2 separate regions of the Homo sapiens genome follow, and region 2 is linked to region 1. Evidence: promoter capture Hi-C in human tissues and cell types (Jung and others, 2019). All regions are on one chromosome and are shown on one strand. The core of a region is centred on a gene start or on the middle of the fragment in contact, and the rest is flanking DNA. Distances in the headings are between cores, read along the strand shown.

Evidence for each region. Contacts are between HindIII fragments. The study calls those that stand out against the background at their distance.
Region 2: a fragment that was not itself captured here is called in contact with the fragment with the promoter of PRDM2 in region 1 in 1 of the 25 tissues and cell types used here (pancreas).

The regions. Positions count from the first base shown.
Region 1 is chr1:13,698,083-13,702,880 of GRCh38, reverse strand. PRDM2 (PR/SET domain 2) reads right to left here and starts at 2,693. Exons shown (of 10, transcript NM_001393986.1): 1 at 2,581-2,693. RefSeq lists an enhancer at 1-187 and a silencer at 2,171-2,940. The HindIII fragment of the contact is 18,174 bases long and covers 1-4,798 here.
Region 2 is chr1:14,038,239-14,043,036 of GRCh38, reverse strand. It overlaps a transcript of KAZN not described here. Among named protein-coding and RNA genes, the nearest start is that of PRDM2, 340 kb to the right of the region's middle. The HindIII fragment of the contact is 4,746 bases long and covers 332-4,798 here.

The sequences.
Region 1 (4,798 bases), core at 1,444-3,943:
CAACCTCCTCCTCTTCCACTCCCCATTATGGAGTTTTCTAGTAGAAGTCCGCTGTTTTGGTTTTTTTTCTGCATGAGTATTAAAAATAACATGAAAAGCTACTCAGAAGACATGAAAATAGTAAATAACCTAAGGTGCTTTCCATCCTGGAAAGTCTATGATTTAACAGGACTTAAAAAGGGTTTGTAAATCAGGTTTGGAACTTGAAAAGAAACAGGCTGCTTAAAGAAACAGTCTCATGAATAAATAAACATCTAACGTAAAATAATCATCAAAAGAATAGGCGCAGATATATGTACATAACTGCACAGCCACAGCCAAGAACGGAAGAAAGGAAGCTGAAATTGAGTGTTACTTCTTATGACTGCACCCGCAAGAAAAATGCTTATTTAGATGCTAAAAAGCAGAATTTATATTTTTCACTGTAATCTCAAAAGATTACAGAACTTTAAAACCCACGATTTTAAAAAAACTTTCAAACAAATCTTAATGAAAAGAAAACTCAGGCTTGAGAAACCTTACAGATCAATATGGACTTGATTGATAACTTACGGCCCATCCACATATTAAATAGCCATTAAACATAATATTGACTAGTTAGTGGCATGGATACATGCTCACCGTATCATAAGGCAAGACAGGTTGCAAACAATATACACACTATATTATCAATCCTGTATAAAATGTAAATAAATATATATATATGTGAATGAACTGTAAAATAAGGAAAGAAATACGCATATCCACACCAAGAGAGACAGGAAGATCTGCCAAACGTTAACAATGGTTATCTGAAGAGGGGAAGGTTATGCCCAATTTCTGTTTCTTCTTTGTGCTTTTCTCTACTTTCCAATTTTCTACAGTGAGAATCTTTTGTTATGTTTTGTACTTACAAAATTAATACATTCTTACAGATTTAAACTGTACTGTTTCAGGCCCTGTCCACAAAATAAGGAAAAAACAAACCTGAACATACCAACCTTTCAATTAAAGAAACCACCTTCAGAATCAACAAAAGCAAACATTTACTGAGCAGTATTATCATGTTCTGGCACTTTTCTAAGCACTTAAAATGTATTAACTTATTTCAATCAAACCAAAACAGATGTGTTGAGTAAAAAGAGCCCTGGAATCACAGAAAATGTAAATGAGTTTTAGTTCCACTGTGAATTTTGATTTGTTTCCATAGCTCGAAATGAGGGGGTTTAATAAAAATGATCTTTAAAGGTCATCTCAAGGCTAAACTAAGATTCTACATGTAAAAATTTGGCCAATAAGTGTTAGTCCGGAAGCCTCAAGAGTGATGGGGCAGTTTGGACCATCTCAAAAACACAGAACCCTACTAAAAAAGAACGTATGACAGTGTGTCTCAGTTCCTCCTCCTTAATATATGTAAATTTCCTATCATGTTTTTTTTTAAAAGGCCTACATTTTTCTAATACTTGGACACAACTGATCAAACCGAGGCGAAGTGTGTACCATTGTAAAAGAAATCATTGAAGAGTTCCATTTGTTGTTAAAAGTTTCGGTCACTTTTAATAAACCTGGAGTAAACAAAAACTTAAACATTTTAGTCGAGTTCTGGGGTAAAAATGATTCTTCTAGTGTCTGGTTAAAGGGATCTAAGGACCTACTGGGATTCAGCAAAAGACGTTCCACGTCTCAAATACACCCAAAATCTCAATACAACACTAAAAGAAAAGTGAGGGGCCAGCACGAAATTTCTGTTAGGGGAAATTTCAGCTGCGTAGTTAAGGAAATCAGGACTTCCCGGTTAACTATGGGGTCTTTGCCGCAGCTCACAGCCCGACACAAAGCTACAAGCCCGGAGGGTCGGTGGCTCACGCGTGGATCGAAAGAACCACGAAGGTTTGGGGAATGACACTGACCTGTTAGGTTTACTTCATGTCTCACTTACCACCATCAAAAGAGGTTCATTGATAGCTTTATTAGCAAAATTAGTAACAGAGTTGCACGTCTGTAACACACACACACGCGCGCGTGCGCACACACACACATACACCCGTGGGTCTATGGGAACATTGAGGGAGACAATCTCCAGGTTAAAACCACACAAAAACTATTTGGGAAACACAAAGACGCAAGACACAAAACAAATTTGGAGTGCAAATGTGCAAGACACACTCAGTGGGAACACAAAAGAGAAAAGCACAGCGGCTTGACAATTGGGACGGCGCCCGGCCCCACGTGGGGCCCCAGGTGGCCCCACCGCCGCCCGCACCCGGCCAGTCTCTGCAGCCCGCACGCGTCCCCCGCGGGGCGCGCGGCTCTTCACGGCGACAAACCGAATCCCGAACTTCGCCGCAGGGACCCCACGGCCGACAAGGAGGAGCCCGGCGCCGCCACCCACCCGCGGGGCCACCGACCCGGAGGCCCGCGCCTCGTCCCGGGGCCCCCGGCACGCCCGGGACCTCTGAGGGGGCGCGTCCGCCGACCCGGCCATCCCTGCGGCGCCGGGTCCCCAGCGTGTCGCCGCCGCCGTCGCCGCCGCGCTCCTCGGGGGGAGGGACCAGCGTCCCGGCGCGAGCCCAGAGGCCGCCCACCCGCGCCACTCCTTACCCGCGCCCGCCGCGCCAGCGCCTCAGAGCACCGAGGGCCGCCGCCGCCGCCGCTGTTTCGCCGGCCCCGGCGCCCGCGGCCGCGCCGCCGCCATCTTGACTCCAGTCGGAAGTGACGTCGGGCGGCGAGGCAGTGGCCTGCGGGGCTGGGGGGCTCCGGGACCCCCGGTCTCCCCACGATCCCAGAGCCCGGCCCTTGACCCTGCGCCGTCGCCCAATGGCCACCACCCAGCCGCCCCTCGTAGGTCACCGCGGATCCCATGGCGGCGCCTCGGGAAGGAACCCCGGCGGCTGGCGTCGCGGCAAGTCCGACCGCACCCTAGGGCTAGGATCCTGCGTGGTTCAAAGATTCTCAAAGAATCAAAAAGACTGAAGGAGGTGTTGGGGGGGCATGTCTATCGTTGGAGGTCATTAAATATCTGACAAGTACATAAACGTAGACCTTATACTTCTACGTTTGGATCTATACCAAAAAGATCCAACTCCAGGCAGACAGACGCAGCTGCTGGGTTTATTTGCTGCCCTAGTACCCAGGAGCAGTGACCAACGCTGCCCTGTGCCCGCGATGTTCCAGTGCAGCGCCTCTGAGAGCGCGGTAGTAGTCCTGCCCTTAAGGAGCTTGCTGTTCCCAAGCGGGCAAACAAATGGACTGCAGAGACGACGACTCATAGATGTTCTGATGAAGATGAACTGGGTGGAACTGGAGATGGCTCTTCGACATCCAAGGGTGGAGGCCTAGCACGTGGTTGAAAATGAGTTGAGTCGGGGAGAAGCACAGGCTGGAGATGAGCTGGAAAGTTGGGAGTTGTCGTTATAGATGGTGCCTGGAGCCTTCAGCACTTCAAGATAAAGTAATCCTCTGAGAATGAAGTCAGGAAGAATCCGAATGTGATGGCTACGTTGGCCATCTGCAGAAAGCACCCAGTGGAAAAACAGGATACTAAGGGCAGGTGTGCTTCCAAAAATTATGAACGATCATTTATGTAACAGGTTTAATCTTAAGAAAACGTGTTGGCCGGGCGCAGTGGCTCACGCCTGTAATCCCAGCACTTTGGGAGGCCAAGGCAGGTGGATCACGAGGTCAGGAGATCGAGACCATCCTGGCTAACACGGTGAAACCCCGTCTCTACTAAAACTACAAAAATTTAGCCGGCCGACGTGGCGGGTGCCTGTAGTCCCAGCTACTCCGGAGGCTGAGGCAGGAGAATGGCGTGAACCCAGGAGACGGAGCTTGCAGTGAGCCAAGATCGCCCCACTGCTCGCCAGCCTGGGCGACAGAGACAGACTCCATCTCAAAAAAGAAAGAAAACGTGTTGTATCAACATATATCATGTTATCTTATTGTAAAAGAATGAGGCTAGGCCGGGCGCGGTGGCTCAGCCTGTAATCCCAGCACATTGGGAGGCCGAGGCGGGTGGATCACGAGGTCAGGAGATCGAGACCATCCTGGCTAACACAGTGAAACCCCGTCTCTACTAAAAATACAAAAAATTAGCCAGGCGTGGTGGCGGGCGCCTGTAGTCCCAGCTACTCCGGAGGCTGAGGCAGGAGAATGGCGTGAACCCGGGAGGCGGAGCTGGCAGTGAGCCAAGATGCCCCACTGCTCTCCAGCCTGGGTGACAGAGCGAGACTCAGTATCAAAAAAAAAAAAAAAAAAAAGAATGAGGCTATAGCTGATGATCGAGTCGGTTATAGTAAACAAATGAAGATCACCTCATTAGAGTAAATTTTATTAAGGCCTTGAGAAGTGACAGGGCTTAAGAAAATAAGGAAATAAATCAAACCTCAAGGGTTTGCTTATTTCTTCCGCTATTCAAGGAAAAGAGACCCTAGATCTGGGAGATACCACGTGCCTGTCATCAAAGTAGTATTCTCTGTTGTGGAGCAAAGTCATCAGACTTCTGCACCCCTTACCTAGATTAATACCTTCCAACTGGATCCATGCATCGAAATTATCTGGGGTATCTATGAAGAAAATAGGGAGACCCCACTGTTCCATCCACCATCAAAACACTGACATAGAAATCACCATTTTAAGAGAAAAGCTATGGGCCACCTGGCATTCAATAGAATGCAAAAGGAAAATAAAGGATGTTAAATCAGAAGTGGCACGGTGAACCAGAATGGATACTAGATGGTTGGTTAACAGAGTAGCCAGTAGTTGTCTTTCCGGTTATTAATTCATTAATCCAAAGTGACTGGCTATATTAGTTTCCTGT
Region 2 (4,798 bases), core at 1,455-3,954, 340 kb before region 1:
ATAAAAAGGTTACAGAGATGATGGTTGCACAACAATGTAAATGTGCTTAATTCCATTCTGTACACTTAAAAATGGTTAAAATGGTAAATTTTATGTTTTGTATATTTTACCACAATAAGAAAAAAATGTTTAAGTTAATAATGATCATTATGACAAGAGATAATTAAGGCCAGGTACGTAAGCAGAAACACTGATTTCATTCACTGCTAGTATTCAGTAACATGCAAAAGTTTTGGAAAGATGATACATCAAATGATCTTTTACTTTACTATACAAAGGAGTAGCTTGAGAAACCCTTTAAATAGACAGCTTGACTTCCAGTTCCAAGATGGCAAAATGAAGAAATATCTGTCCCCTTCTACTCTAAAAAATCAATTCACAACAAATAGGAGGGAAAAAAAAGAAACCCAAGTACAATTTGGGTGAAACTAGATGCCATCTGTATCACTAACCCACAATATATGAAGTGATAAAATAGATTGAGTGAGCAGAAGAAAGTTAAATTTAAGTTCTGGCAGAGGGAGACAATATGGAAAAGCAAGCCAATTTGCCCTGGGAACCCTAGACCTGCTCAGGAACTTGAAGTACCAGGTACAGAGGTAGCTGAGACTAAGATGAGGGCTGAAAGCAGGGAGAATGTTCTACAGGTCTGGATGAGAAGCTGTTGGACTCATAGTATTCTTGCCCTCCTGTAACCCAGCATAGGAAGTGACTTCCCTCTCCTCTACACTTATAGTAGATGGGGGTATATTTTCCAAAGAAATAAACTAGAAGGTTCTGGAATCAAGAGCAGCAGGTTCTGTAAAAGGAGTAGAAATTTATGCTGAGGAAATTTCCCAAAAGGGAAAAAAAACTGAAGAGAAAAAAAAAGAAAATTAGGTCAATCCAGGAGGTCCTACAGTTGACTAAGAGATTTCCAGAGAGAGAGAACAGAGAAAACAATAAGTAGTAGACAAAGAAAAAACATTTTAAAATTTCCCAGTACCAGACATAAGCCCAACCCACACTAAGACCCATCATAATGAAATTATTCTAGAATCACAGATAGAGAAGATCCTAAAAGCATTCAGAGAGGAATGTCACAAAGGATCAGGTAACAGTACGGAACTGGACTTTTCAACAACCAGAAGCCAGAAAAAAATTAAACAATACCTTCAGAATTGTAAGAGAAAGATTCTATACCCAGCCAAACTATCCATTGGGGTGTGGGTGAAATAAGACATTTTCAGACATGCAAAGTCATACAAGAAGTTAATTCTCTAGTACTCTGTAGGAAACTACAAGGGAAGGAGGTCCACTAACATGGGGAAGTAACTACTGAAAAAGAAGACTTTGGATGAAAGAAATAGGGAATCTAGCACAGGAGAAAGGTAAAGGGAATTCCAGGATAATGGAAGAGAGACCCCAGGATAAAATCTGTTCAGCAGTCTTAGAGAAGAACCAAGCCAAAAGGGAGCATAAGGGAGGGCTCCAGGAGAGAGAAATCAAGGAGAAAAAATAAATAAAACTGGTAGGTTATCTGACAGGTTTGGCTGAGTTGAAAAATTGCATTGAGGAGCATTCTATACAGCTATTGGAGAATACAAGAAAACTAAGATAAAGACTTGAAATAAATCCAGGAAATGGGAAAATGAAGATTTTATAAGTAAGTTGAGAAGAAAGGAAATAAAATCATAAAGGTATAATCATAGTACATTCCCTGGCTTAGAAGTAAACAATATCTGCATAGTCATAATAATGGAAACAATAGTAATTACAACAAAACGTGGAATTATACTACTGGGGTATAAGGAGAAAAGAAAGAGGGGTGTAAGAAAGTCAGAAGTCCTCACCTAGGTATAATATGAAAGCAACAGACATTGTTCAAAATTGATCATTCATGAAATAATACACTGATGTGATTTGAAAATATTGGAGAAAATGCCAGAAGAAACAGCTAAAAGAATTCAGCGGTGGTTGCTTCTGAGGAGCAAAGTGAAGCTGCCAAGCGAATGGGGCACTGCTGTTTTCCGTCAGAAGCCTTTCACCATTATTTGATGTTGAAACTATACATGTGCATTACTTGGTTAAAATAAAAATTATTTTAAAGGTAAAAAATGGCTTCTCTCTGTACTTTAAAAATGTAATTTAATGTTTATATCTATTATATTAACTCCTAATAGCTCAGGAAAATATTGGTTTTCCAAAGTGAACAAGAATAGCAAAGCTTTCTTTTCTATTTTATTTTATTTTATTTTAATTTAATTTAATTTTATTTTATTTTAATTTTTTTGAGATGAAGTCTCGCTCTGTCTCCCAGGCTAGAGTGCAGTGGTGCGATCTCGGCTCACCGCAACCTCCGCCTCCCGAGTTCAAGTGATTCTCCTGCCTCAGCCCCAGCCTGAGTAGCTGGGATTACAGGCGGGCGCCACCATGCCTGGCTAATTTTTGTATTTCTAGTAGAGATGGGGTTTCACCATGTTGGTCAGGCTGGTCTCAAACTCCTGACCTCAGGTGATCTGCCTGCCTTGGCCTCCCAAAGTGCTGGAATTACAGGCATGAGCCACCGTGCCCAGCCTAGCAAGGCTTTCTTAAAGACCCTTAGGAAAGTTGCTCAGGCTTTTAAGCCTATTCGAGTCTAATGGAAGGAATCCCCTCCATCCCCCGCTGACCTCCCACAGCACTCCTGGCCACATACACGGGAGATCTGAAGGCTCCCATACTGACTCCTTCCACCTAATTCAGCCTGGCCTTTTCTCCCCGAGAAGCTTCAATTTCCTGTTACAGAGTCAGCTGTTTTCAAACTGAAAAGGTCAGATGTAAATGCTATTTTAGGGTGCTCACATTTGGTGGAAATGAGTCACCCAGGTTGGGTTTATTGCCTGAGCCAGGTAAACATGAAATCCCTCCAGTTAAAAATATCACAAGCAGAAAAAAAACCTCTCTCTCTCTGTCTCTCTCTCTCTCACACACACACGTGCACACACACACACGTGCACACACACACACGTGCACACACACATCCTTTTCCACCAAGTTCAGCCAGATGAATTTATTACCCAAGTAAGATTTATCTAACGTTTTCATAAAAATCCCCAGCCTAAGGGTGATATGCATGTCAGTATCGTTGCTAGCAATTTGATGTTAAAAAAGATTTGCTGTACAAGCTTGTCTATTGGAATTGATTGGAAACAGGCACACATGGCAATGTAGAAAAATCTAGATAATCCACAGTTATCTGTGCTCCTTTCCCCTGTGGAAGAGGGCTGGAGAGGTCGCCCAGCATACTGAGTGCATGAATGTCAGGGTTTTCTCTAAATCTCCAAGGATGCAACACTACAAGGCTGTTTATATTGATCAACAGCATGCATGGAAGTTAACATAAATCAATTAGTAAAATGCTCAGGCAGCAGCGATTGCTAAACTATACTGTGTAAATAAAAGTTTTAAATATAAAACATGATGATCAAATCTATTAACCATGCTCAGCCCTGCCAAGCTCTACCGTGACCTTCAGCAGCAGAATTTTCAGCTGTCACTCAAAGCCCACTGCCGACTCATGTGGACAATCTTGCATTGCTAGATGTTAGGGTCGTCTCAGAACTTAACCCCAAGTCCCATCTTTAATAACAATGACAAAGTGCATCGATACAGCACTTGACAATTTGCCAGCCTCTTTCAAACACTTTATTGGTTGACTTGGTCCTTGCTGTATGCCTTGATAAGAGGGCAGCTCATAGGGAGACCGTGGAGGCAGACGTAGAGAGTGGAAGTCTTGGCTCTGCAATTTACCATCTTGTCTGGAAGCAGGCAACTTAATTTCAGGGTTAGATACGTTGTTCTCAAATAGCTATTACTTTAATTCCTACTTTTTTTTTTTTTTTTTTTGAGACAGAGTCTCACTCTGACGCCAGGCTGGAGTGCAGTGGCACGATCTTGGCTCACTGCAACCTCCTACTCCCTGGTTCAAGTGATTCTCTTGCCTTAGCCTCCCGAGTAGCTGGGATTACAGGCACACACCACCATGCCCAGCTAATTTTTTGTGTGTGTATTTTTAGTAGAAATGGCATTTCACCTTGTTGGCCAGGATGGTCTCAATCTCCTGACCTCATGATCCACCTGCCTCAGCCTCCCAAAGTGCTGGGATTACAGGCATGAGCCACTGCGCCTGGCCTTTAATCCCTACTTTTACAGAGGTGAAACTGAAGCTTAGAGAGTGAGTTATTTGTAAAGGGAATTGGAAAAACGGATTCACACCCAAATCTATTTATCTCATTTTCAACTCCATGCTTCGCTTTGCACTGCTTCCATGGATTCCTGAACCCCCTGCAGCTTCATCACAGGTATGACCTAAGGCAAGGTTTCCTGTGTCCTTTGAAAGGCAGAGACCCTGCACCCCTCCCGAGGACTCTCTTCAGTGGAGCCCAGGGAGGAAGGCACTGGTGTCTATGGTTGTCGCTCAGCTCCCAGCATCCCACTTTCATGACCCAATTGCAGTCCTACAGTGAAAGGTATATTGAAAAGGAGGGCAACCTGGAGCCCTGCCCTCAGACCTCATTTCCTTTTGCTCTCCCCCAGGCTTATTCTTCTGAGGTCACCTGTCCCAGGTGCTGTCCTTTAAATGTGCAGGATGTTCCTGCATAAGGCCTTTGACCTGGGGGCTCCCTTTGTCTGCAACTTTCTCCCTCCAGAGAACCATATGGCTAACTTCTTCACTCTCCGAATCATCCCTCAAGGGTTAACTTCTCAATGATGTCTGACCTCACCACCCTACTTAAAATCACAACTGCACCTGCCCCACCCAGACCCCCAGATCCCT